Linked DNA regions of Homo sapiens: all the other regions are linked to region 3. The links are contacts of gene promoters, found by promoter capture Hi-C in human tissues and cell types (Jung and others, 2019). All regions are on one chromosome and are shown on one strand. The core of a region is centred on a gene start or on the middle of the fragment in contact, and the rest is flanking DNA. Distances in the headings are between cores, read along the strand shown. Region 1 overlaps OTOGL (otogelin like). Region 2 has its middle 36 kb from the start of OTOGL. Region 3 holds the start of PAWR (pro-apoptotic WT1 regulator). Region 4 has its middle 56 kb from the start of OTOGL. Region 5 has its middle 55 kb from the start of PPP1R12A-AS1. Region 6 overlaps OTOGL (otogelin like). Region 7 overlaps SYT1 (synaptotagmin 1).

Evidence for each region. Contacts are between HindIII fragments. The study calls those that stand out against the background at their distance.
Region 1: a contact is called between a fragment that was not itself captured here and the fragment with the promoter of PAWR in region 3, in 2 of the 25 tissues and cell types used here (mesendoderm cells and thymus).
Region 2: a fragment that was not itself captured here is called in contact with the fragment with the promoter of PAWR in region 3 in 2 of the 25 tissues and cell types used here (adrenal gland and mesendoderm cells).
Region 4: a contact is called between a fragment that was not itself captured here and the fragment with the promoter of PAWR in region 3, in 4 of the 25 tissues and cell types used here (H1 embryonic stem cells, IMR-90 fibroblasts, aorta and 1 more).
Region 5: a fragment that was not itself captured here is called in contact with the fragment with the promoter of PAWR in region 3 in 1 of the 25 tissues and cell types used here (H1 embryonic stem cells).
Region 6: a fragment that was not itself captured here is called in contact with the fragment with the promoter of PAWR in region 3 in 2 of the 25 tissues and cell types used here (IMR-90 fibroblasts and aorta).
Region 7: a fragment that was not itself captured here is called in contact with the fragment with the promoter of PAWR in region 3 in 2 of the 25 tissues and cell types used here (bladder and mesendoderm cells).

What each region holds. Positions count from the first base shown.
Region 1 is chr12:80,120,266-80,124,118 of GRCh38, reverse strand. All of the region lies in intron 1 of OTOGL (otogelin like), which reads right to left. Among named protein-coding and RNA genes, the nearest start is that of OTOGL, 23 kb to the right of the region's middle. The HindIII fragment of the contact is 4,573 bases long and covers 105-3,853 here.
Region 2 is chr12:80,061,619-80,065,309 of GRCh38, reverse strand. No RefSeq gene overlaps it. Among named protein-coding and RNA genes, the nearest start is that of OTOGL, 36 kb to the left of the region's middle. The HindIII fragment of the contact is 5,744 bases long and covers 1-3,691 here.
Region 3 is chr12:79,689,417-79,692,853 of GRCh38, reverse strand. It overlaps PAWR (pro-apoptotic WT1 regulator), which reads left to right and starts at 1,890. Exons shown (of 7, transcript NM_002583.4): 1 at 1,890-1,982; 2 at 2,463-3,125. The coding sequence starts at 2,610. It overlaps PPP1R12A-AS2 (PPP1R12A antisense RNA 2), which reads right to left and starts at 2,822. Exons shown (of 7, transcript NR_187531.1): 1 at 2,458-2,822. RefSeq lists silencers at 1,593-1,892, 2,663-3,182. The HindIII fragment of the contact is 10,737 bases long and covers 1-3,437 here.
Region 4 is chr12:80,041,629-80,045,414 of GRCh38, reverse strand. No RefSeq gene overlaps it. Among named protein-coding and RNA genes, the nearest start is that of OTOGL, 56 kb to the left of the region's middle. The HindIII fragment of the contact is 9,563 bases long and covers 1-3,786 here.
Region 5 is chr12:79,988,790-79,992,622 of GRCh38, reverse strand. It overlaps the pseudogene SNRPGP20. Among named protein-coding and RNA genes, the nearest start is that of PPP1R12A-AS1, 55 kb to the right of the region's middle. The HindIII fragment of the contact is 5,137 bases long and covers 1-3,833 here.
Region 6 is chr12:80,163,836-80,167,346 of GRCh38, reverse strand. All of the region lies in intron 1 of OTOGL (otogelin like), which reads right to left. Among named protein-coding and RNA genes, the nearest start is that of OTOGL, 66 kb to the right of the region's middle. The HindIII fragment of the contact is 4,487 bases long and covers 1-3,511 here.
Region 7 is chr12:79,383,394-79,387,056 of GRCh38, reverse strand. All of the region lies in intron 9 of SYT1 (synaptotagmin 1), which reads right to left. Among named protein-coding and RNA genes, the nearest start is that of MIR1252, 34 kb to the left of the region's middle. The HindIII fragment of the contact is 4,110 bases long and covers 1-3,658 here.

The DNA of each region.
Region 1 (3,853 bases), core at 1,142-3,641, 430 kb before region 3:
AGGCATGGGCAAGGACTTCATGTCTAAAACACCAAAAGCGATGGCAATAAAAGCCAAATTGACAAATGGGATCTAGTTAAATGAAATAGCTTCTGCACAGCGAAAGAAACTACCATCAGAGGGAGCAGGCAACCTACAGAATGGGAGAAAATTTTTGCAATCTACTCATCTGACAAAGAGCTAATATCCAGAATCTACAATGAACTCAAACAAATTTACAAGAAAAAAACAAACAACCCCATCAAAAAGTGGGCGAAGGATATGAACAGATACTTCTCAAAAGAAGACATTTATGTAGCCAAAAGACACATGAAAAAATGCTCATCATCACTGGCCATCAGAGAAATGCAAATCAAAACCACAATGAGATACCATCTCACACCAGTTAGAATGGCAATCATTAAAAAGTCAGGAAACAACAGGTGCTGGAGAGGATGTGGAGAAATGGGAACACTTTTACACTGTTGGTGGGACTATAAACTAGTTCAACCATTGTGGAAGTCAGTGGGGCGATTCCTCAGGGATCTAGAACTAGAAATACCATTTGACCCAGCCATGCCATTACTGACTGGGTATATACCCAAAGGATTATAAATCATGCTGCTATAAAGGCACATGCACACGTATGTTTATTGCAGCACTATTCACAATAGCAAAGACTTGGAACCAACCCAAATGTCCAACAATGATAGACTGGATTAAGAAAATGTGGCACATATACACCATAGAATACTACACAGCCTTAAAAAATGATGAGTTCATGTCCTTTGTACAAACATGGATGATGCTGGAAACCATCATTCTCAGCAAACTATCGCAAGGACAAAAACCCAAACACCACATGTTCTCACTCATAGGTGGGAATTGAACAAGGAGAACACATGGACACAGGAAGGGGAATATCACACACTGGGGCCTGTTGTGGGGTGGGGGAAGGGGGAGGGATAGCATTAGGAGATATACCTAATGTTAAATGATGAGTTATTGGGTGCAGCACACCAGCATGGCACATGTATACATATGTAACAAATCTGCACGTTGTGCACATGTACCCTAAAACTTAAAGTATAATTAAAAAAAAAAAGAAAAGAAATCACCAGGTGAAGGAAAATGTTAATGAAACAAAAGGCATTCACTCTGTCCTCTTACCTGGAGCCTGGTTCAGGCTCTGGACTCCAGGGAAAGTGAGCAAGAGGGAGAAAAAATAAAAAATAAAAATAAAAAAATAAAAATAAAATCCAGAGTGCAAGCAAGGACTCAACTTGCAGAGCAACTGCATAGATTTCTGCATTTGGAAACTTGGTCTTTCCAAGTCATAGAAATGAAAACAAAGCATATATGAAAAATGACTATCCTGCTGTTATTTGAGTGTTTGCATACTGTTTCCATAAAGAAGCAGAAACCCAGTGTCAGACTCGTGCATACTCAGAAAGGTAAAAGACAGCATCTGGGGAATGACACTAGAGAAATGTGCCTCATTTCTTTTGCTTCTTGCCAAGCTTACCTTGACATTTACTTCTATAAACATAGTCAGTAAAGACTATGAAAAGAAATTATCTTCTGAATTTACATCTGGATTTTTTCTCAGCTGCCACAACTTAACCAGATAAGAGTTTTCCTCTTCATTTCTATAATAATACTAATAATTAATGATACAAAGTATCTTGTATTGCATCTTATTCCTAACTTCTTCCCTGACTGCTAGTCTCATTTTCTTTTTGCCATAGCACAGTTAAATGAAAAAGAACAATTATTTTTGTCTTTCATTGATTATTCCAGTATGTCATAATGGTTGCATAAAGGAAACACAGGGACACTTAAAATTATTTTGATCTTGATGTGACAGTGTATTTATTTCTTTTTTTGCTTATACATTGGAATTTTATCCTAGAACTAAGTTCAGAAGGTAGAGGTATATATGTATATTAATTCTAACTGTGATCTCAAGTACTTTTTTTTCTTTTTAGTTAGTTAAACAACTCAAAGTTTTGAAAAGGATGGATTTGGCAATTGTTCATTTTTTGTGGTATTTTTCTTAATCAAAAATGATTCAAATGAGACAGTTTGAGCCTCAGATGGATTTGGTGCTTGAATTATTTATATTGGCCATATGATGATTTTGCACTCATCTCTTTCTCGTGTTTACAACATCATGTTCTGAAATAAAGTACAAATTATAAGTGTGTGTCACTGTGCATTTCTCTGTGCATTTCTTGCATTCTTACTCCTCAGCAACTCAGGCACACCTCCAATTACTGGAACTCAATACAAATTGTTCCTGCTTAAGATTACTAAAGGATAAAAGGATTGGCCAGTAGTCCCACATAAACCCACGAAGAACCTCCCACTATGGGTTTAAATGATTCTACCATCCTCATAATGTCAGTTAAGCTGTGTTAGCCTAAATATTACATTTTAATTTTAGACAATCTACATGATACGAAGAGAAGTGTTTTAGTGTCAATTTTTCTATTTACTTGGCCAATTAGAAAACCAAACAAGATAATCAAAACTGCTATTATGGTTTGGTTTTTTATTTTGTTTTGTTTCGTGGGGTGGTTGATTTTGTCTAAACTGTATGAATCCAGTTTGTGTTATATAGACTCTCTGCTCTAGGGAGGGATTAGAGACTTCTATATAATGGTGTCTAAGGATGAGGAAGTTGTTGCAGATACTTAATGTCTATACTTGCAGTGTGTTAGAGTCAAAAGTTCTTGTGTTTTTTCTCCAAAATATCTGAAGGAGGAGCTGAGGAGGCAACGGTCTGCTTGAAAGGTAGCCTTTGTAGTCTTGTCTTAAGCTGCATACACATAGAAATCGTTCTGTTTTTATTTAGTGTTTCCTTGAGGTGGCTTTAGAGATTGTCATGAGTCTCCTTGTTCCTGAGCCAGATATTCACAAACAGGTGGTTTATTATGAAGTATTCTCAGCAATAATGCTTGTAAAGGAGTGAGGAAAGCAGGACAGGGCAGAGGGAGAGGTTGACCTCCAAGGCAGTTGTAACAGAGGCCTCAGCCCTTCTCACACAGTTCTCTGAAGCTTGAATATCCCCTCAGACCTGAGCTGAATTGAAGCAAGGAGCTCGGCCTTTGTCCCTCCACACACCCTACCCTAAATAACTAGTCATAGGAAATATGCTGCCTCCAAGAATGGGTTATAAACTTGCTCAGCCAAAAGAATTTCTTGGGGAAGGAATCAGTTGTGAACTCTCAGCACTGGACACTTCTGGTTCTCAGGGGAATAAGGGTCTTTGTTCTGAAAGCAGGATCTGGACTATGCTCCATAGTGTCTACTACAGGGGTAGAGATAGTCCCTGGGTTCTGTCACTGCCTATAAACCCAACTCTGCAGACAAATTCATGAAGAGGTGAGATTTGTATAGTTTGTGTTTTTATATCGAGGGAATCTTTTAACAAGTCAGCTTACCGCATTAAAAATCTAAAACTTCTCTTGTGTAGCAATATTCATATTGAAAGGCATTTCCATAGGTTAAAACTTTAATTTCTTAAATCAGTATTTCTCATACTTGGATTTTTGGAGAGATCCTCCAATGAGAGAGAATCCTTAGGATTTTTTTTCAAGAAGTTTGCACATTATTCAAGTATAGGAAATACTGGAAGTAGTGGAAAAATCTGGGCTCAAGAATCAGAGTTGAGTTTAAATCTTTTATGTGTTGCTGCTTGCTAATTATATAACAACAGGTATGTAACTTTTTTTTAATCCTTTATGCTGTCATTCACAAGGTGAATGTGATGAATATTAAATAAAATAACCCAGCTAGGATTCAGCATAGTGCCTGGCATACTTAGAAACTCTAATTAAATGATATTTGTTGTCATTATGTCAGTAAATCT
Region 2 (3,691 bases), core at 1,178-3,677, 370 kb before region 3:
AGAAAAATGGCAGAGCATTTAGAGTTAGAACAGACATGAACAATACAGTAGCAGGAAATTCCTCTTATTTGCTATTTAATCAACCTTCATAACGTAGGTATTATTAGACACCTATCACAACATGCAAAAGGAAAACAGCAGACTTCCTGGGATTGAACATCAGACACAAGTAATTCAAACTAGAGTAAAATAAACATCGTTAAAGCATAACTCTTGCTTTTTTGCCAGTTCTGGCTGTCTTGATCCAGTATTGTAACATTTAAAGAATATTAATCAGTCACACTTAAAATCAATTTAGGAGATTTTTTATTTCTTACCAGTTTGTGGATAACAGTAAATGTGGATAATTATGCTCAGTTTTAAAAGGTGGAAAGTGATTTCACTTCTAGTCATATTTTCCACATTACTTCTGTAGAAAAATAATTTCTGGAACTCTGAATGTCAGCCACCACTGTATTATACCACAATGCCCCTATATTAAATTAAAGCGTTCATTCTCAACAAAAGATTTTTTCCCTAATGCTTTGAAGATCATGAGCTATGTATTTCCAGAGTATGTACTAATAAACTGCTTAATATTACATATATTTAAAAAACAGGGTATTTCATGGAAGAAGAACAAAATATAGATTATTTTGTTCTCTTCGTTGATAAACATTAACAGTGGGAATGGATGACAGGGTAAGTGTTATCCCCAGCGGATAAAATGGTAGAAGAGATAGCTAGAGCATATGAGTGATGCAATCAAGAAGTAAATACAAGTCCGCCAAACACATGAGGACATTATTTGGAGACTTTTTGCTTGCATATGTTCACATAACATTTCAGCTGAGTAATGCAAGACTTTAACTTATGCATATCTGTGGGATAGAGGAATCTCTCAAAGAATGAAGAGAGACTTTATTCAAAAGTCTACAGTGGAAAATTAGTCTTCACAATGGGCTTCCTTTACAGAAAACTACTGGGTTGGCAGTATATATTCTATCACACATGGTTTTCTAGGGTTTGAGTCAGCTGGTCCAACTAGGAATAACAATTACAGCACTGTGCAACAGTAATTGCTTGCTGTGGCAATATTGAAGCAAAGTCGTGTGTCTCCCTCCCACCCCAGGAAAAAATTTTTAACAAAAGGGTATGACTATGACATCTTTGACTACCATGTCAATGTTCATGAACAATGTTTCAGCATACATAAATGAAAGGCAGCCACATGAAGAGCAACATTACAATGTAAGAACTCCTAACAAATGTGCCTGTGGCATCTGGATAAAGAAAGAAGAGAATAAAGCATACTTGAAAAGAATTTCACTCCGGTCAAGATTCTATTTTTGGAGTGAATGCAGTAAAGATTTTGATCAATGTAATAATACATGTTGAGTATGAAATGAATAAAAGTACCCTCCATACATATAAAAATAAATTTTGGATGAAGAGCACAGGTGGGAGATATAAGCAATAAAAAAGAGAAACCTTTTTATTCTACTGGGGAGATAACGGATTTATTCTGGGTATATAATATCTGAAATATTCAATCCTTAGGACAAAATCAATTATGAAAATCATTTGGCAGCACTTCTAAAACCAGTATAGGCATGACCCATGACCCAGCAACTCCACTCATACACTGTCCATCAGAAAATGTGTACAAGAATATTCATAGCACTATTTGCAGTAGAAAAAATACAGGAAACAACCCAAACATCAATTCAAGAACAGGACAGATAAATAGTGGTGTATCTACACAATGATGTTCTAAAATATAATAACAATAAATGAGCTTTTCTTTTCACCACTAAATAAATTAATCTTACATATATGCTGTATGATTCTATGATCCTATTTATATAAAGTTGAAAACAGGCAAAGCTAACCTGTAGTGTTAGACTCTGAATATTGATTGCTCTTTTGTGAAGTGCCGTGATGATATGAGGGGGTTTCTGGAGAGCTGAGAACATTCTGCTCTTCCATCTGCATACTGGCTACACAAGCATGTTTGCCTTGTGAAGGTTCATCAGGTTCTTTTCTAGCATTTGTCCACTTTTCTGTTGTGTATTATACTTTCATTACTTAAAGTCATATAAAGCAGACTCTGGATTCCAGCCTGACTCCATGTCTTACTAGCTGCATAGCCCTGAGCAAATTAAATAACCTTTCTTAGCCTCAACTTTCCAATTTGTAAACAAGGATAATTATAGCACCTACCTCAAAGAGTTATTATAATTTCATAAGCCAATGAGCCTGGCACAACATCAGCATTCAATAAATGTGAGTTATTATTATTAGTTAGTGCACGTCATGAGGCAGAATGAGTCTTCATCGGTGAGCTATAAAATAAAACAACCTGAAAGCTAGAGTAGAAAGGTCATCAGAGAGAAGGCTCATGGCAAATCATATAAGGAAGAAGACCACTTCAAAGCAAAAGCCCTTAACAATGTCAAGTGCTGAAGAGGGGTCAATGAAGATCAGAAAAAAGATCTGGCAATATAGAAGCCATTGGTGAGCTTTGCTGAGCAGATCAATTTGAGTTGGGGCAGAAGTCAAGTTGTAGCAAGTTAAGGTGTGAATGAAAGGTGAAGAAATTGAGATGTCTTTCAAGAGATTGATAATGCAGAAGAAAAGCAGATTGACAAAGCAAGGTCCAAAAGGAGGTGACGAAAAAAAAAACAAAACGCAACATAGAGTTATCTTGAGAAGGGAGAAGCACATGTCTTCTTGTGTGCCCAGAGGAAAAGAAGAAAGGATGAGTGCAGATGCTGAGCCAAGTAGGCAGGTAGAAAGGATGTTGCAGGGCATTCTTACCAGATGGTTTCAGTTTTCTCAGTGAAGAAAAAGGCAACCTCATACACTAAGAGTGAAGACAGAATTGGCAGGATAGAGGGCATAATGAGATTTTCACAAAATAGATAAATATTGAGGGAATGGGAGACACCCTAACCAGAAAACAAAAAATATTGCCAGTGTCTGCACTCTCATGTTCATTGCAGCGTTGTTCACAATGGCCAGGGTATGGAATCAATCTAGGTGTCCATCAATGGATGAATGGACAGAAAATGTGGTATGTATACACAATACAATTCAGCTTTAAAAAAGAAGGAAATCCTGGCATTTGCAACAGCACGGATGAACCTGAAGGACATGATGTCAAGTGAAATAGGCCAGGCACAAGAGGGACAAATGCCACATGATCTCCCTTATGTGTGGAATCTAAGAAACTTGAACTCACAGAAGTAGAGAAGTAGAGAATGGAATGGTGGTTGCCAGTGGCTTGGAAAGGTGGGGTGGCTGGCGAGATGCTGGTCAAAGAATAAAATTTCAGATAGGAAGAATACATTCAAGAAATCTATTGTACAACATAGTGACTATAGCTAATAACAATGTATTATATTCTTAAAAATTGCTGGGAGTACATTTTAAGTGTTCCCACAACAAAAAAAAGGATGTGAGGTAATGCATATGTTAATTAGCTTAATTAACCATTAGCATTAGGGTACTTATTTTAAAACAACATGTTGTACACAACAAATATGCACAATTTTTCTCTGTCAATTAAAAATATGTATGTAAATAAATAAATATTGCCAAGTAGTGTTGAGGTCCCAGCTGTGCTGTGAACCATGGCTGTCATAGCACCAACCCACAAGCTTATGTGATCTCTGGCAGAACTTTGCATCTCTGAGCTGTTCTTATAACA
Region 3 (3,437 bases), core at 641-3,140:
GACCAAGGACTTTAAGCCCCTAGAAGGGACTATGTTTACTGAGTGCCTTCCTCGAATCAAGCACATTTTATGTGCAGTGTCAGTTCTTAAGACAGCTTAAATATAATGTAATTGGGAGGCTGAGAGCAGGAGAATTGCTTGAACTCAGGAGGCGGAGGTTGCAGTGAGCTGAGATCCCGCCACTGCACTCCAGCCTGGCGACAGAGCGAGACTCCGCCTCAAAAAAAAAAAAAATGTAATTTTTGCTGATTTTATAGTACAGAAAGCTGAGTACCAGATAATGTAAACATGCCCAAGATCTCTCAGCTAGCTGACTATACCCTCTTTCCACTATATCCTGCAGCCCTTCCAGGAGAAAAGTCCTCTGATAAGTTACAAAGCATATGAATGTGAATACGTTTAATGTCCCAGCCTCCCTTACTCTCCTTAAAACTCAGAAAACAAACTAATGAATATGTAATTGAGAAACTTCAGGTGGCACACTGGGGTTGGTACTAGCTTAGGTAAACAGCCGCTCAGCCTTTTAGACCTATTCCCAACAAAAGCTTTTAATTTTCTAAGGATTTTTCCAGAGCTCTCGCCATACGTTTCCCACAACAGCCAGACCAAAGACCAAAACTGTCTTTCCCTGAGAAATATAGAGCATGTGAATCACTTTCTTCTGTTCCCAGTTCTGTGGCAGGCAAACACTGATTGCTCACTCATCATGTGCTACCTGGGCAAAACAGGAATATTAAGTAGGAAGAAAGGTTTATGTTAGGTAAGAGCGTGACTTAGGGCTCTCCTACTTTTTTACAAAATGGAGACCTGGCATTTGTAGCCTCCCACAATGATGTGCCCTGACATTACTTGGATATAGAAAGGTCAGTCTTAGGTGCGTCAGTGACAGCCCACCCCGCTCTGATCCAGAAATTTCAGATGACTTGCATCAGAGGATAAGCCTCTGGCATGTTAATAATGAAAAAATAGAGACAATCACTGCCCCAGCTCATCTCAAATTAGCATCAGTGCAGCGTTAGTACTTTGGTAGGGAGCTTTGCTGCTAAATTCATTCTCTGTAAAGAGGAGAGGCAGAGACAGGGTTAAGGGGAAAACTCCAAGACTGGAATCGCCAATACAATAAACTGTCGAACTGAGTTTTTTCTCCCGCAACCCTAAGATACTAGTAAGTCCTTCCTCTTAGCCAACCCTTTTCACCAGGGCACCGCAGTTTTCTTAGAAGGAGGGTGCTGGGTTTGTCTCAGGTCTTTCTATTCTCCTGCCCGCTGCCCTAGTACATCTGAAAAGGGAGCAGCGACTAGGAAAAGAGACACGTGGGTATTTTCCCATCCTGTCTAGTCATTCCCTGAATCATCACAAGTTATCGCACTTTTCCCCTTAGCCAGCAGCGTTCGAGACTTTCTCTCAAATAATACGGTCTTGTACTTAAAAGGAAGAGTGGTGGGAGAAGAGAGAGGCGGAGAAGACAAGCAAGAAGGGCGTGGAGTGCCGTTCCCGCCCCGGAGTCGGAGGCGCCGGGAGGCCGGACGCCGCGAAGCTGCTAGCCCAGGAATGTGCCGTCTAACTCGCAGGCCGCGGGCGGAGCGCGGCGGGCGCGCTGTGGTCTGCGGCGGGAGCGGGGCAGAGGACGGCTGGCGCAGGGCAGGCTGCAGCGGCGGGCCGGACGCGACGCCGCGCACCTGAGCGCCGGGGGCGGGGCGTCAGCGGCCACGACCCTTCCCACCGCGCGCCGCGCCCCTCGCGCGCCGCCTCGGCCTTTTCCGCTCGTGCTTCGGCGCCGCTCGGCTCCCTTCCCGCCCCTGGCTCCCTCCCTCCCTCCCTCCCTCCTTCTTCTCCCTCCCTCCTGTCCTGGGATTGCCTGGAGCTCCGCACCGCGAGTTTGCCGCGGCACTTTCCGCGCGGCGGAAGAGCGCGCGCCAGCTTCGGCACACCTGGGAGCCGGATCCCAGCCCTACGCCTCGTCCCCTACAAGCTCCTCCAAGGTAAGGCGCTCGCTCACACCCGGTCCTTTCCACGCTCGGCGGGACAGCTGGGTCCCCGCCTCCTCTGCGAACCGGCTAGGAGCTCCGCGCCTCGCCTTGGGAGTGGGGTTGTAGCTGACGGGGACCTCGGACCGGCGGTGGCTAGAGCGCGGAGCAGGCGATACGACGAGCCGACAGGTGGCGGGTCTAGCCCTAGTATCTCGACCGCCGCCGGCGCGGACCTTGGTGGGGATGGGGCGGGCGGGCCGACTTGGGGGTGGGGTCAGTCCTCTCTCCTCCCTTCTAGGGGCGGCGATCGTCGGGGTCCGTACTGTAGGTGCGTGGGAGAAACTTTGCAGGGTGGGGACCCGGCGGCTGCTGGCCGGTAGTGACTGGTGGGCGCGCTCGAGGACTCCAAGGGGCGCAGCCCGGGGGCAGACCCTTGGGTCGGGCGGGGATCTTACGCTTCCCTTACCCGCCCCCTTTTGTCTTTCACCTCAGCCCCGCCGGCTGCTGTGGGAGCGGCGGCCGTCCCTCTCCTGGAGGTCGTCTCCTGGCATCCTCGGGGCCGCAGGAAGGAAGAGGAGGCAGCGGCCGGAGCCCTGGTGGGCGGCCTGAGGTGAGAGCCCGACCGGCCCCTTTGGGAATATGGCGACCGGTGGCTACCGGACCAGCAGCGGCCTCGGCGGCAGCACCACAGACTTCCTGGAGGAGTGGAAGGCGAAACGCGAGAAGATGCGCGCCAAGCAGAACCCCCCGGGCCCGGCCCCCCCGGGAGGGGGCAGCAGCGACGCCGCTGGGAAGCCCCCCGCGGGGGCTCTGGGCACCCCGGCGGCCGCCGCTGCCAACGAGCTCAACAACAACCTCCCGGGCGGCGCGCCGGCCGCACCTGCCGTCCCCGGTCCCGGGGGCGTGAACTGCGCGGTCGGCTCCGCCATGCTGACGCGGGCGGCCCCCGGCCCGCGGCGGTCGGAGGACGAGCCCCCAGCCGCCTCTGCCTCGGCTGCACCGCCGCCCCAGCGTGACGAGGAGGAGCCGGACGGCGTCCCAGAGAAGGGCAAGAGCTCGGGCCCCAGTGCCAGGAAAGGCAAGGGGCAGATCGAGAAGAGGAAGCTGCGGGAGAAGCGGCGCTCCACCGGCGTGGTCAACATCCCTGCCGCAGAGGTGAGCCGGGCGGGGGCCGCAGCCGGACCGGGCCGGGGCGGGCAGCTGCCTCCCGGTGTCTTCCTCCTGGGAGCTACCCGGGGCGCAGAGTTTACCTCCCCTGGCTCGTACTTGTCCCTTCACCGAGTTAGGCAGGCAGGGGGTGATGGAGTTTTACTCTGAACAAATGCTTCCTGGGAAGTTCCCCAAACTCAGAGTAGGACACGTGCTTTTCAGGCTTCCTGGCCAGGTCTCAGATCCAGGATCCTTTTTTACCGTGGTAGAAAGACAACTTATGGCTCCAGGACTTGCCCACCTGGACTTGGCTGACTT
Region 4 (3,786 bases), core at 832-3,331, 350 kb before region 3:
TAATATAACAGAGAAAATATTTCAATACTATATGATATCTAGGAATCAAGCTAACAAAAGATACACAAGTGGAGAACCAAGTGTTTGAGAAAAGAAAGTAGACTAGTGCGACTATAGTGCAGAGTTTACACAGAGGGAATTCAGCAAAAAAGGAGTTTGGCCAGATTAAAGAGGCTTGATCCATAGCAACTTTTTGAGCAAGGAAGTAGAAAAAATAATGTAATATTTAGAGAAATTTAATCTGAGACCAATTCAATGGAATCCATTAGTCTAAGGAGCCCAGAAACGCAGTGGGGGGATTCAGTCTACCTCCTCGTGTGGAGATTTTTACAAGGAGTTCGCTTGTAGTAAAGAGCAGTGTACTGCCTGCCACAAACTCAAATAAAAGAAAAATCAGTATTTTAAATCTGATTGTTTTCCTGTACAGTAATAATGGAAAGCAGAAAACACTGCTGCAGTGTTGCTTGTCAAACTCTGGTCTTCATATTTTCAATATGAGGTCAAATGATGGAATCTTGAGTCATCCAGTGGCCTGGTTGATGACCAATTCTTCTATCTAATGACTAATTTTGGCATTTAGAAAAAGGCTAAAAATATGCCTGTGATCATAGGCAGAAAGCAGTTATTTTAAAAAAGAGACTTTGGGGCCAGTTGCACAAAATTATAATGAAACCATGGTAATAACAGGCAATAGCTGTAAGGGTTAACTCATAAGTTACGAATATTTTAGGGCTGGGTGCAGTGGCTCATGCCTGTAATCTCAGCACTTTGGGAGGCTGAGGCAGGCGGATCACCTGAGGTCGGGAGTTTGAGACCAGCCTGACCAACATGGAGAAACTCCATCTCTATAAATAAATAAATAAATAAATAAATAAATAAATAAATAAATAAATACAAAATTAGCCAGGTGTGGTGGCGCATGCCTGTAATCCCGGCTACTTGGGAGGCTGAGGCAGGAGAATCGCTTGAACCGGGGAGGCAGAGGTTGCTGTGAGCTGAGATCACGCCATTGCTCTCCAGCCTGGGCAACAAAAGCGAAACTCCGTCTCAGAATATTTTAACATCAAGTTCTGACGTTAGTATGGCACTATATAGGGAGGCCTAAGTCCCCAACTGACCTATTTTTGTTAAATATAAATAAACATATTCAGGCCCTTATCTTTCCAACTTCTCTTTGGCATTTTCATTTGCCAAATATTTACTGGACACCTGCTATATATCAGGCACTGTGCTAAGTCCAGAGGATTCAGCAGAGAACAAAGTAAATGCAGCACCCGCCATCTCAAAGTTTACATTCCTGCCTGAAGTCTGCAATGTGGCAAACTTCTCCTAGGCTGCCAGGACACCACTCTGGAGCTTTTCCCTGCCTCCCTCATCACTCTGTCTCCTTCACTGGCTTCTTTTCTTTTGCTTTTCTCTTAAACATTGGTTGCCCCAATTCTCAGCCCTCTTCTCTTCTCCCTCAGTATTCTCCCAGAGAAATCTCCATTTATTCCCATTTTTGTATTTCATTTGTATAGTACAATTACATTCAGATCTAGACAGATATATAGATTACTATGTGCCAAGATCTGTTATAACCACATTACAAATATTAACTCATTTAATCTTTGTAACAACGCTTTGAGGTGGATACTATTATTTTACCCATTTTCCAGATGAGGAAACCAAGTCACAAATTGGTTAAGAAGGTGGCATAACTAGAGTTTAAACCAAGACAGACCATGACCTAGACCAGTATGCTGTGCACACTCCCATGTCTTCAACCTGTCACCTGTGTGTGGATGCCTCCCCAATGCAGATCATTAAGTTGTAATTCTCTATATTCAATCTCATATTTTATAATGGCTGCTAGACATCTGTACCTGAACTTTCCACACATAACTTAGAAACAATGTGCTTTCTACTCTGAATGGTCGTGTCGTCCCAAAATTCTTGTGTTGAAATCTTAACCCCAAGGAAATGGTATTAGAAAGTGAGGCCTTCTGCTCAAAACTGCTGCAGCTTTCCACCTCCTGGTATCTGTGTCGGCAAATGGCCCTTCTTGCCTTGATCCACAGGGACGGAGAAGGGGATGTCATTAATATTTTGTTCATTAATACTGATTAATTAATCCAAAAAAAGTGAGGCCTTCTGGAAGGTGATTAAGTCATGAGAGTGAATCCTCATTAATGGGATTCGTGCCTTTACAGAAGAGACTCCAAAGAGCTGTCTTGCCCTTCTACCATGTGAGGACATAGCATGAAGGGGCCCTCTATGCACCAGGAAACATGTCCTCACCAGACACTGAATAGACTCATGTCTTGATCATGGACTTCTCAGCCTCCACAACTGTGAGGCATAAATTTCTGCTGTTTGTAAGCTATCTAGCTTATGGGATTTTGTTATAGCAGCCCAAACAGACTAAGACAGTACTCAATTTATCAAATTCCTTTTCTTTCATGCTCTACATTATATGTACAGTTCCTTATCAATATCCTCTTATAACAGCCTCCTAACAGGCCTCCTTAATACAGCAGTTCTCAAAGTATGATCCAAGGACATCTAAGAATTTTTGAGACCCTTTCAGGAGTTCACAAGATCAAAATTATTTTCATAACAATACTAAGATATTATCTGGCTTTTTTACTGTGTTGACCTTTGCACTAATGGTGCAAAAAACAATGGGTGATAAAACTGCTGACAACTTAGCATGAATAGAATAGTAGAAGCAAACTATACTAGAATTTTATTCTTCACCACCATACACTCCCAGTTTAAATTCTAAGAAGCCAGATTCACTAAAGAATATCTTTGATGAAGTAGTAAAATATATGAATTTTTCAAAATATTGACTCTTGAGTACATACCTTTTAAATATTCTGTGAGATGAAATAGAAAGTACACATAAAGCTCTTCTGATCTACTGAAACAGTCCTTGTCTCAAAGAAAAGCAATTGTGTAGGTGTTTGAATTGTAAGTAGAAGTAGCCATTTTTTCAGAGAATGTTAGAAAAGGATAATATTCATACTAATTCAGATATTAGAAAAATTAGAATATTGGAAATCTTAACAAATATGATTTTTTTGTATTATATATTGAAATGTGTCAACATTTGGAAGTTCTACATAACTTGGGGAACCAATATTTTCTAGATGACCAGTGCATTTGGTTACAAAATCATATATGGGTGAAAGGTTCGTTCAAAATTCAATATACACCAATGGATTTTAATCCATCACAGTAACAAATATGGTTTCAGATTCTACATTGCAACTAAGCATTATGAAACTACCACTATTGTATTTTGGTTTACTAGCAAAGAATGTCAGATACTCTAAGCTTGTAGGTCCCCAGCTATCACACAAACCCACTGCATGCAACCACTTGGGCCCCTTAGTATCCCCCTCCATATGACTCGGAAAGCAAAGGTAACCAGTGCAAAAATGAAGTTTCATACTGATTGCTGCACCACGAGTAATGACTCAGGAATTCTGTGTCTAATGCCAGCAACCCGAAACTGTAGAAGGCTAATTTTTTAGCTTATAAATGAGGTAAAATCTCAGACTGTTCACAGTTCTTGACAGATAATGAATGATGAGAAAATTGTTTAACTAAGTGAAGTGGTCATGTGAGGCAATCCTGGAAAATAGACTAGAATGATTCGGGCAGAGATGGCCTAAGGAGTATGATTATCTACAGGTGATAGGCAGCTACTGAAGGTGTTTTAGTACAAGTATAACACAGCAAAAGTGTTACCTTATTAAAATTAATCGGAGTGATATGCTAACTGCCAGTGTAGAGCTA
Region 5 (3,833 bases), core at 90-2,589, 300 kb before region 3:
AAACTCCGGACAGGCCGTCTTTAAGAACTGTAACACTCACCGCGAGGGTACGTGGCTTCATTCTTGAAGTCAGTGAGACCAAGAATCCACCAATTCCGGACACATTACCATTGAACTTTCAGCCTCCAGAGCTACGATAACAAATTTCTGTTATTTTAAACCACCTAGCTTGTAGCACTGTATTTATTTAGAGTCAGAGTCTCACTCTGTCACTCAGGCTGGAGTACAGTGGCGTGATCATAGCTCACTGCAGCCTCAGTCTCCCAGGCTCAACTGATCCTCCCACCTCAGCCTCCTGAGTAGCTGGGAGTACAGGTGTGCACCATCATGCCTGGCTAAAGGTATACATATTTAACATATATATTATATAGTATATATTATATATCATTTAATACATAATATATATTACATATAATCATATAGTATATATAAATATATGTTTATATTTTTAAAAAAAATAGAGATGGGTCTCACTATGTTGACCAGATGGGTCTCAAACTCCTGACCTCAAGCAATTCCCCCATCTTGGTGTCCCAAAGTGCTGGGATTACAGGCATGAGCCACCACTCCTGGCCTAAAAATCTTTTTTTGTAGAGATAGGGGTCACCTTAGGTTGCCCAGGCTGGTCTCAAACTCCTGGGTTCAGGTGATCCTCCCGCCTTGGCCTCCCAAAGTGCTGTGATGTGATTACATGTGTGAGCCACTGCACCTGGTCTGTAGGACTTTATTACAGCAGCCCTGAGAAATGAATACAGTGTCCAGTCATCTTGGATTATGAGATGGCTTGCTACAGATGTCAGAACACAAGATACGGGCCTTGGTGACTTCCTGGAATACAGCTCTGGATAAGCTCTCGTCTGGGGAGGTTTACATAATAAAGAAACAAGTTAGAGTCTTGAAGCAAGTGTCATTTAGGGTTTCTATTACTCACAGATAAACCTAATTCTGATACAAGCCATATACCTCTTCTACTAGGTGCTACCAAAGGCTGTGGCACCTAATTCTAGTCTTCATTGACTAGCCTGGTTCTCCACTTATGTGGAAATTGTTGGAAATTTGATAAAGCTAATTATATGTTCTAGCTTTGCCAAGGAAGACAGTAAAATTAAGATAGTTGTTTAGGATTGCTGGAAACTAGAGGCAAATGCCTCCAGGGTTGAAATCATGGGTTATTATGATTAAAAATGATACTTGCATAGCACAATGGATGAAAGCACAGACTGTGATATCAAATACCCCTGGAAACCAATTCCAACTCTATGCCTCACTAGCCATCTAAGTGATTTTGAATAAGTTATTTCACATCTCTACTCCTCAGGTTTCTCATATATAAAATAGATGATAAAAAGGGCATGTTAATGAATTGCTTAATTTATGATGAAAAGCATGAGTGAGATGATGATAATGACCTTATAGACTGAAGAGGGTATTAAAGGAGAAATATACATAAAGTGTTTAAAACAGTTACAGACACATAGTAAGTTTCTGCCTGTCACCAGTAGAGGGTCTTGACTGCAAGTTTTCCAAGTTGTTGGCGTTTTGAACAAAGAACTGGACAAAACGCCCAGCAAAGCAAAGAAAGAATGAAGCAACAAAAGAACAAAAGCAGAGATGTATTGAAAATGAAAGTACGCTCCACAGTGTGGGAGGGGCCCCAACAGCTGCTCAAGGGCCAGGATACAGAATCTTCTTGGGTCCAAATACCCACTAGAAGTTTCCCATTGGCCACTTCATACTCACCTCATGTAAATGAAGTGGTAGCCCGCAATCAGTCTGATTGGTTGCAGAAAGCAGCCAACCAGAGGCTGAAGTGAAATTATAAAGTTCACACTCCTGTGCAAACATTGCTTTTTGCAACCAATCAGAGGCTAAGGTGAGTTACAAAGTTATACCTCTATGCAAACAAAGACTCCGCCCGCAATCAGTCTGACTGGTTGTGGACAGCAACCATTCAGAGGCTGGAGTGAAGTTACAAAGTTGCAAACGAAGACTGGCAGTATGATTTGTTGCCGACAGCCAATTTCCCATCGGCCGCCCAGAAAAGATGGGGGGTTTGCAAAGGGAGTAGCCTCTGGTCCTTTTGTTACTTAGGCATGGAAAGTTAGGGTTTTCCTTTCTTTTTAGTTCTAGGAAGTCGGCAAGAAACAGCCTTAGGTTCCCTGCCTCTAGACCCTGTTCTCCTGCCTCATTCCCACCTAGGGCTTTTGCACATGTATTTCCATTGCCATGGTTGTTCTTTTAACATCATCAGACCCCAGCAAAGACACACTTTGTGTCTGGTTAATTCACATTCACTCTATAATCTCAGCTCAAAGTTCATCCCTTCATAAAACCCTGTCTTGGTCTCCCCTAAAATTCAGCCGCATATCACTTTATGATTTTTTATCATAGCTATTAGTAAAATTTGATCTAGGATAATTATTAGTGTTATTATTTGCTTGATTTCTGTCTTAACTTCTAGGCTAGCACTACTCACAGTGTGGTCTCAAAGCTCACGGGTGCTTGTCTGCGAACTATTTATTACTCATCATCCAGGAGATAAATACAGAAACTAGATTAAGTATTTAGAAACTTGTAAAACAATTTGACATAGTATTCTGAGCTTGTATTTTGTATGTTTGATTTTTTTGTTTGTTTTTCTAAAAACTCATTTTTATAAAAAGCTAGAAAACATGTCTACAATAATTTTTTAAGTTTTTAACTAATCTTTCATTACAGATTGTTCAAGAAGCTTGGTTTAGGCCAAGGATTAGCAAACTCTCTTTGTAAATGGTGAAATAGTAAATGTTTTGGGATTTTCAGGTCACATAGCCTCTGTTGCAACTATGTAACTCTGACTTTGTAGCATAAAAGCAGCCACAGGTAATACACAAAAGAATGAATATGGCTGTGTTTCAATAAAACTTTATAGTCAAAAACAGATGGTGGGCCAGATTTGACCCACGGGGTGTAGTTTGCCAACACCTGTTACAGGCCATAAACTCCTGAGGGCAGATATCTCATTTGTTTTATTCATCATTGTCTTTCAATGCCTATGACATCCCTCACATAATGGGTATTCAATAAATATTTATTAAAAGTTAGTCTAATCTCTAAAAGGGGTGCAGAACTTGCTTGAATTGACATGGAGGTCATATGTCCAAGGCCACCAAGCCATGGATGACCATGAAAAGGATGTTAACTGCCTGGTTAGTAAGATTTTTTTTAAACTATGGATGTTCTAAGGATCAAATACATTCTGGGAAGCAATGATAATCACCAGTTGCTTGAAGAAAGAGGATGTTGGCAATTGGCTGGGTATTAAGGAAGCTGTGAGAGTTTGGGTTGATGATACCACAGGCACATGAGGAAGGCTGCAAATTCTATTTCAAGGCAGCTCTGAGCCTGGTGAGTAGGTAGCACAAGCAAAGCTTACCCTCCTGGAGAGAAAAAATTATGCACAAGAAGTAGTCATTAAAATTAAGTTGTGTCAGACATGCCAAAGGAATACTGTGGTGATCTGATCCCTTTATGAATATTTGATGAATGTGTGGAGATCACAACTAGTGGGCAATGGAACAATATCGGAATGGTGGTAGATAAATGGAAGGAAATATTATCATGTTAGAAACCTCAGAAAAAGTATAAATAATGGCCGAGTTCAGCAGAGAAATCAATTACTCCAAGATGTCCCTTCTCCAAAAGGCCTATTTCACTATGACAAAAAAAAATGTGTATTCTTAATATTAAACATATGGTGAATTTAAAAAAAAAAAAAACTTCAGAGGACCCTGAGATCAAGTCCCAAATCATATGATCTACATATAAGGTTCTTCATCATTTGATTCCAATCT
Region 6 (3,511 bases), core at 680-3,179, 470 kb before region 3:
AAATCAAAACCAAAATTTTTAGCCTATTACACAGTCGCCTCACAATTCAGCCCTCAACTGTCTTTGGAGAATCTCCACCTCCCCACCACTCCCACGGACTTGCACCCTTCACTCTACTAAGGCTGAATTGTTCGCCATTTGCTGGTAAATCTGTTTCTTTTCCAACTCCGTGACTGTTCCCAGGGAAAAGACTAGAGCTAGAAGAACAGGGCATTTGCTTCAGCACAAAGTTTAAAGGGATGCCAAAAAAACTCAGTCATCAAGGGAAATATTTTATGCAATATTTTAAAAAATCAATGCAAAAAAAGATAAAATATCAAAATTTAAAATAAAGGCAATATCAGTTATTCCTCCCCGAAATTCATTCTGCCTAGGAAAGTCTTACTTAAATATGATGACTTGACTTAAATATTTCTTCTCTGAGGAGTCTCTCCTACCTTCCCAGAGCACAGCATTTTTTTCTGCCCTCTGACTCTGTTGCCATAAGTCTCCAATTCGTGCTTTATTTATCTCACCATGTACTCCTCTGAACTGTGAGAATTTTTAAACCATCTCTGCATCCCAGTGATTGATATACATTAGGAATTCCACTACTATCTGCTATTATATATGAACAAATAATAGGTTACAGTAAATATAGTGAGATATATGGAATTTGGAATCAGAAACAGAAATTCCAATTCCTTATCTACAATTTATATATTTGTTAATTTTATGGAGCAGAGTAAATCTCTGAGCCTGTTTATCTTTGGAATGGAAATGAACTTACTTCTTTGGGGCTTTCAGAAGTTAGGTATTTATCAAATCTTTTGAAAGAGAGGCCAAATAGAATAGACATTTATTCATTCACGTGAATTCCAGTGAAGAAGGTGAAAAGAGAGAAAGGACAATATGGTTTACTTGGCAAAAAGAGCTACATCTTTGAAAATAAGAGCAAGACTTAGATTTATGACTTAGATTACACAAATGAAAATAATTTGTGAAAAATCAGCATTTAGAGGAAGAGCTTGTCTAATAATGTAGAAGGTGAATTTTAAATATGTATGCATGTGTGTATGTATATTGTCATATTTAAAATAAAATATGTAGAAACAAAGAAAGAATGAAAGAAAGGGAAGAGAGGGAGGAAAGGAGGGAGAGAGAGAGAGAGAGGAAGAAGGGAGGGAGAGAGGAAAGGAAAAGCTACTATACTACACTGTACATGCTATCTTTAATATCTCAGAGAAGACAAATAGCAACAATAAAAAGCATCTTGCAAACAAAAAGGAAAATGTATGAAAATATATATTTAAAAATTGGGTATCACTAATCCAGCAAATCTTGTACTCAGAAGGAAAGCACATTACCACCATCTGTCTCTCAATTCACATATTGGCTTTACAGCAGGAAGGTGTATCAGCCAGGGTCCTGACAGAACACAGATGGCACAATCAGAAGGAGTAACTGAAGAAGGATTAGTGAAGGGACTATGTACAAATGTATGGATGGGATTAAGGGAAACCAACAACTATTGATGAAGCACCTCAGGACTGGCAACAGTGGAAGCTATTACTACATTTAGGCCTAAAGGGGTAAGAGAAGGAGCAGTTACCAGAACTCAGGGCAGCTGTAGCTGTAGCTGTAGGAAAGGTCTGGGTGCTGGATGGGATCTGTGACTTGTATAAATCCAGCCACTGCCAAACCTCAGGCCCGCAGGGCAGGAATCAAACTCTCTTCCCCCTTACTGGTGCATCCAATCAACTAAACTCAAATGGAAGACAGAAGAAACAGAGCTCAGTTGATCCTTTTCATAGAGGTCAGCCTGAGATAAAAAGCAAAGTAGATAGTGCAAGAAAGAAGAATGTAAATTACTGCAGGTGGGTGGAAGGAACAACTTGAGAATATCCAGTTTCCAGACAGCAGAAACCTTTGTCATATATCTCTGTACACACATCCCACAACCACTAACTCATCACCTCAAATCAGATATAATACTTTGCACATAGTTGGCCCATGATAAATGCTTAATGAATAAAGAACACAATGGTATATATGTCCACAGCAAAGATTAGAATAAATGGAAAAGATCAGAAAATAGGAGAGAAGCAAAGCACATGTCATTTCAATCTCTTTAGATCTTCTTTCCAGTTTTACAAATCTCTAAAGAATCCTAGGAGAAGAAAAAGTACTGGACAGACATAAGACAAGAAATATCTTGCAAATTTTTTCAAGACCCATTTAGCACATGCCTCCTACTCTAGTATCCCACACAGGGAGAAAGCGCTATCATGAGACTATTTTCTGATTTTATTTATTTCAACACCATTTCCTCATTTTATTTTATGCCAGTCCCCTTCTATCCTTGGAATACCCTCTCTATTCCTGTCCATTCATCTTTGTTGAATATCCTCTTCATACCAAGAAATTTCCCCTTTTTTCCTCCTCTACATTAATGCACAATCAGTAATGCACAATAAATCATTATGTATATATTTGCAGAACCATGAGCCAATTAAACCTCTTTTCTTTATAAATTACCAAGCATCAGGTATGTCTTTATAGCAGTGTGAGAATGAACTAGTACACTGGGTCATCTCAGTGTCTCACAGATCAAAGACGCTGCCATGGGCTCATGAAGTGGTGTCACCCAGATACAGGAGCCAGCCTGACAGTCTCACTGAACAGGGATGCGTTAATACAACATCAACAAGGATAATGACTGCAATGGATTAGAAGACTCAGGGTACATCAAAAGCCATGAAACAGTCAGAAATGAACATGTGGCCATTATTACCTACCTTAGAGAAATAAAAGGATTATAAGACAATACTATGAGCAATTATATGTCAACAAATTCAGAAGCTTAGATGAAACAAATTCCTAGTAAAACACAAACTACAATAACTGACACAAGAAGAAATAGAACATTTGAACAGACTTATAACAAGGAAAGAGACTGAATTCTAATCAGAACCTCCCACCAAAGAAGACTAGAGGACAAGGTGGCTTCACTGGTAAACAGCACAAACATTTAAACAAACACCCAAAATTATTTGCTTTGTAATGGTCTTCTAGTTTTTTAGGTATGTATACCCTGAAATAGTACCTTGAAGGAGAAGAGGAAAGGAATCTAACAAATTCAAAATATACTACATGATGAAGTTTTATAACTAACATCTCCATATTCTTCACAATTATACAACAATATAGATATCGTTAATCTCTGCTTATAGGTGAAGAAACTGAAGCTAGATAGCCAATTTTCACAAAGTTACACAGTAGAGCCAAGATTTTGGGTACCCTATTCTTGAGGGGAAAAGCACACATCTTATAAATTCCCACCTTCTATCTCTCAGTCCCCATCTTTCATCATTTGTGGTAGATTATTGGCCTCAATTCTTCATAGCCTCCCCTTTTATCTGTGGCCTTTGTCATGTGACTTCATTGTTTCTCCCATTGAAGAATGAGAGTATATCCTTCTCCTTTACCTTGGGCTCAGCCCTTTGACTTTACCAATGGAATATTAGCAACA
Region 7 (3,663 bases), core at 354-2,853, 310 kb after region 3:
ATCTATCTCCAATCTCAAGCTCATTTCCTGAATAGGCAGGTGACAGGCGGACATCTCTATGTCAGATATGTTTAGAATGGCTCTATTAAATGCTGGAGTAGGTTATTCTTCCCATAGAATGTCTTTCATATATGTGAATTTAACGTTGAGAGAGAAAGCAAGAAAGATAAGGAGAGTGCACACCCGTAGAGAAGTGAAGTAGGAGGTCACAGGGAAACTGAAGTAGCAATGAGAATGCTATAGGCGCAACTACAGACCCATGGATGCACGAGGCTAGGCATTGAGGAGACTTGGAAACTAATAACTTCAGGAACAGGCACTGAGACGTTTTGAAAAGCGTTATGATGTTACAGAAATTATGGTTCTAATAGGTGTGTAAAAGATCGAAACACCAGGGAATACCAGGAATACAGATTTCTTATTTTTAATAAAAGCAAAATAAGCATGGAAGATAGTTCATACAATAGAAAACTAGTAAGTGGGAGTTGAAAAATGAGAACACATGGACACAGGGAGGGGAACATCACACACCAGGGTCTGTGGGGGTTGGGGGGCTAGGAGAGGGATAGCATTAAGAGAAATACCTAATGTAGATGATGGGTTGATGGGTGCAGCAAACCACCATGGCATGTGTATACCTATGTAACAAACCTGCACGTTGTGCACATGTACCCCAGAACTTAAAGTATAAAAAAAAGAAAAAGAAAAAAGAAAACTAATGAATACTAAGGAAGGAAAAAAAAAAACCCAAAAATGTATTTGGGGAAAACCCTGGTAATTTTCAAAGGAATCTTATAATTGTGAATTTTTTGTTGGAAATTTATTATTTAAATAAATATGTGTTTTTGTAAAGAATCTAATAACTTCTTCTCTGGAGAAGGATGTGGTACCTTTCTTTAGGAATGGTTTAAAGTAATTTTAAAATAGCAGGGTAATGCACCATACAACCTTTAAGGGGTAATTCAAGGCCCCAGATGAGCCAGTGTTGGTTTAAAGTAGCAGCTAGGCAGCACTGCAGCAGTATTAGAGACTGCAGCAATGATATTCACCAGCACTGCCATGCACCACCTTCTGTGGGCCAGCCTGAGTATACATAACAAAGTTTGTTTTCCTTTTGACTACAAGATTTTTCTAGCTTTTTAACTTAGTCATAGACCACTTTATCCAGCTAACTGACAATAACAATTTTAGGGGAGTTATGAATCTTGGTGTATGTTTTCACCTAAGACACCAGTGGCACATTCTATTAATAGCTTTATTTCCTTTATTTAGTATATTCATATACAACACATTTTCCTGAATTAAAAAACAACAACAACAACAACAACAATGGGTAATTGTATAACCACAGTTGGTTGATGCTCCCTTCAGTTGGTAACTCTGGCCTAATACACTGATTTGTTCTAAATCCTATGATAAACTGCATATACAAAACCAGTTTAGTATATAATGTGGCTCTGATACCATCTTGAATTATAAATTATAGCATGCTACCACCAGTAAGTTTGGTATCATAATTTTAATTTTAATTGTGGCTGACAATTTTGGGGGGAATAAACACGCATAACTAGGGCAATCAGATTTGAAAAAAATCAATGAATATACATAAAGCTTGATTGAGCATCCACAAATACATAGAAAATAAATTATGCAAACAATCCTAAGAATGCATTTCCAGTAACTGATTATACAATCCTTATCTATGTAGAGTTTGGAAAAAAAAATCTTTTTTTGATAGTAGTTTTTTCCATATGGAAATCCAGTGGTCCTGCCCAGAAGCAGTGGCTCATGCCTGTAATCCCGACACTTTGGGAGGCCGAGGCTGGCAGATCACTTGAGGGCAGGAGTTCAAGACCAGCCTGGCCAACATGGTGAAACCCTGTCTCTACCAAAAACACAAGAATTAGCTGGGCATGGTGGTGGGTGCCTGTAATCCCAACTACTAGAGAGGCTGAGGCAGGAGAATCACTTGAATCTAGGAGGCGGAGGTTGCAGTGAGCTGAGATCATGCCATTGCACTCCAGCCTGGGTGACAGAGTGAGACTGTCTCAAAAAAAAAAAAAAAAAAATCCAGTGGTCCCTTCCATTAGCTGCTTATTATAAATTGCTTGGTGGGAATAACTACTAGCAAAAGATAGTAAATAATCTAACAATAATTCAAAGATTTGGGTATTAAACACCCATACATAAACAGATCAGGAACATAACATCTTACGTAACTCAGGAGAAAGCCAACCAAACCTATCATATAATAAGTGATGACGTTTTTTCACATCGGCCAACAATAGAAAATCAGCTTTCATTCTTGTTTTCTGCTATGCTTCTATTCAAGCCTTGAAACAATGGAACTATAAATTTAGATCATTTTGGCTGTCAGTGGATGGTGCTCCGGATCTCCCAGGTGAGAGTGTCAAAAAATGTTTGTCAAAAGTAGTGATTCATCTCAGTGCCATAACTTTGTGTCTATAACATACATAGCAATGGAATGTAAAGTCATTTAAAATATGTTTTGCTGAATTCACATACATTTTACATGCTAGTGTTAAGCTGAGTATTAAGCATTTTTGTACCTAGTTCAGGTACAGCCACTCTGATTACGTGCCCTCATAAGTAATGTAAGTTGTCACTTATTTTAATACTAAACTGTTCAAATAGTCTTGTTTTTGATATCTAAGAATTACAGAATTATATATATGAAAGATTCTTTTTGGCATATAAATCTAATCTTACAAAATTTTTTATATTTTGTGTATAAAATATAAAGCCTTTTACACAAAAGCTTTTATATTTGCAGTTGCAAATGAGCATATGTTTAAGAGGTTGTTAGGCCAAATAGCAATACTTGAATCTGCTGGATATTTTCAAAGCTTGTTTTCAGTTCCTTGTTTATTGTATAGTTCAGCACTCAGTACAGAAACATGATGCATGTGGAGAATTTGCTGTAACTATTAAACTCAATTTCCTTAATTTATGAAAAATTTTCCAGATTAACGTGATCACCTCTCAGCCTACTCTCAATATTAAGTTTCCTAGAGGAGGGTAAATCATCCACTTAAATAGTTAGGACACAAATAATACTTCTAAAAGATTCTAGTTTCCCCACAGAGTTACCAAATAATAGGTATGATCAAGGACAGGTTATATGGTTGGCGCCATTTTTCACAATTTAGTTTTTATAGTGTTCTAGAGATGAATTCATCTTGTTAGCTCATCAAAATAATAAAGAGTGATTTGCATCTTTTAGAAAGGCCCAAGTGCTTTACATGATGAAGAACTGAAATGCAATGTGAACATTCTTCTGTAGTTTTTTATTTTCATGTGTCTGTGAGTAATCTAGGGATTCACTCCCTATAAGATGAAAGAATTTGAAAGCTGTTTCAACAACAAACAAATCTAATTAAATTCTGATCTTCCACTGTGTGTTTTGTCTAATACTGTAAATTCTGCAAGGGACAACAACAAAATGGACATAAAGGGTAGTTAGAAAAGCAAAAGGAGATTTTCTTTTGTTTTGTTTTTAGGAAAAAAACCCACTTTTTATTTAAATAACTATATCTTGAATAGCCATCTATACTATATAAACTTATTTTGCCATTGTACCATATTGAACAGCATGAAAATATTCATAGTTAGGGAGGAAGTGGAAATACAAGAATGTTTTGG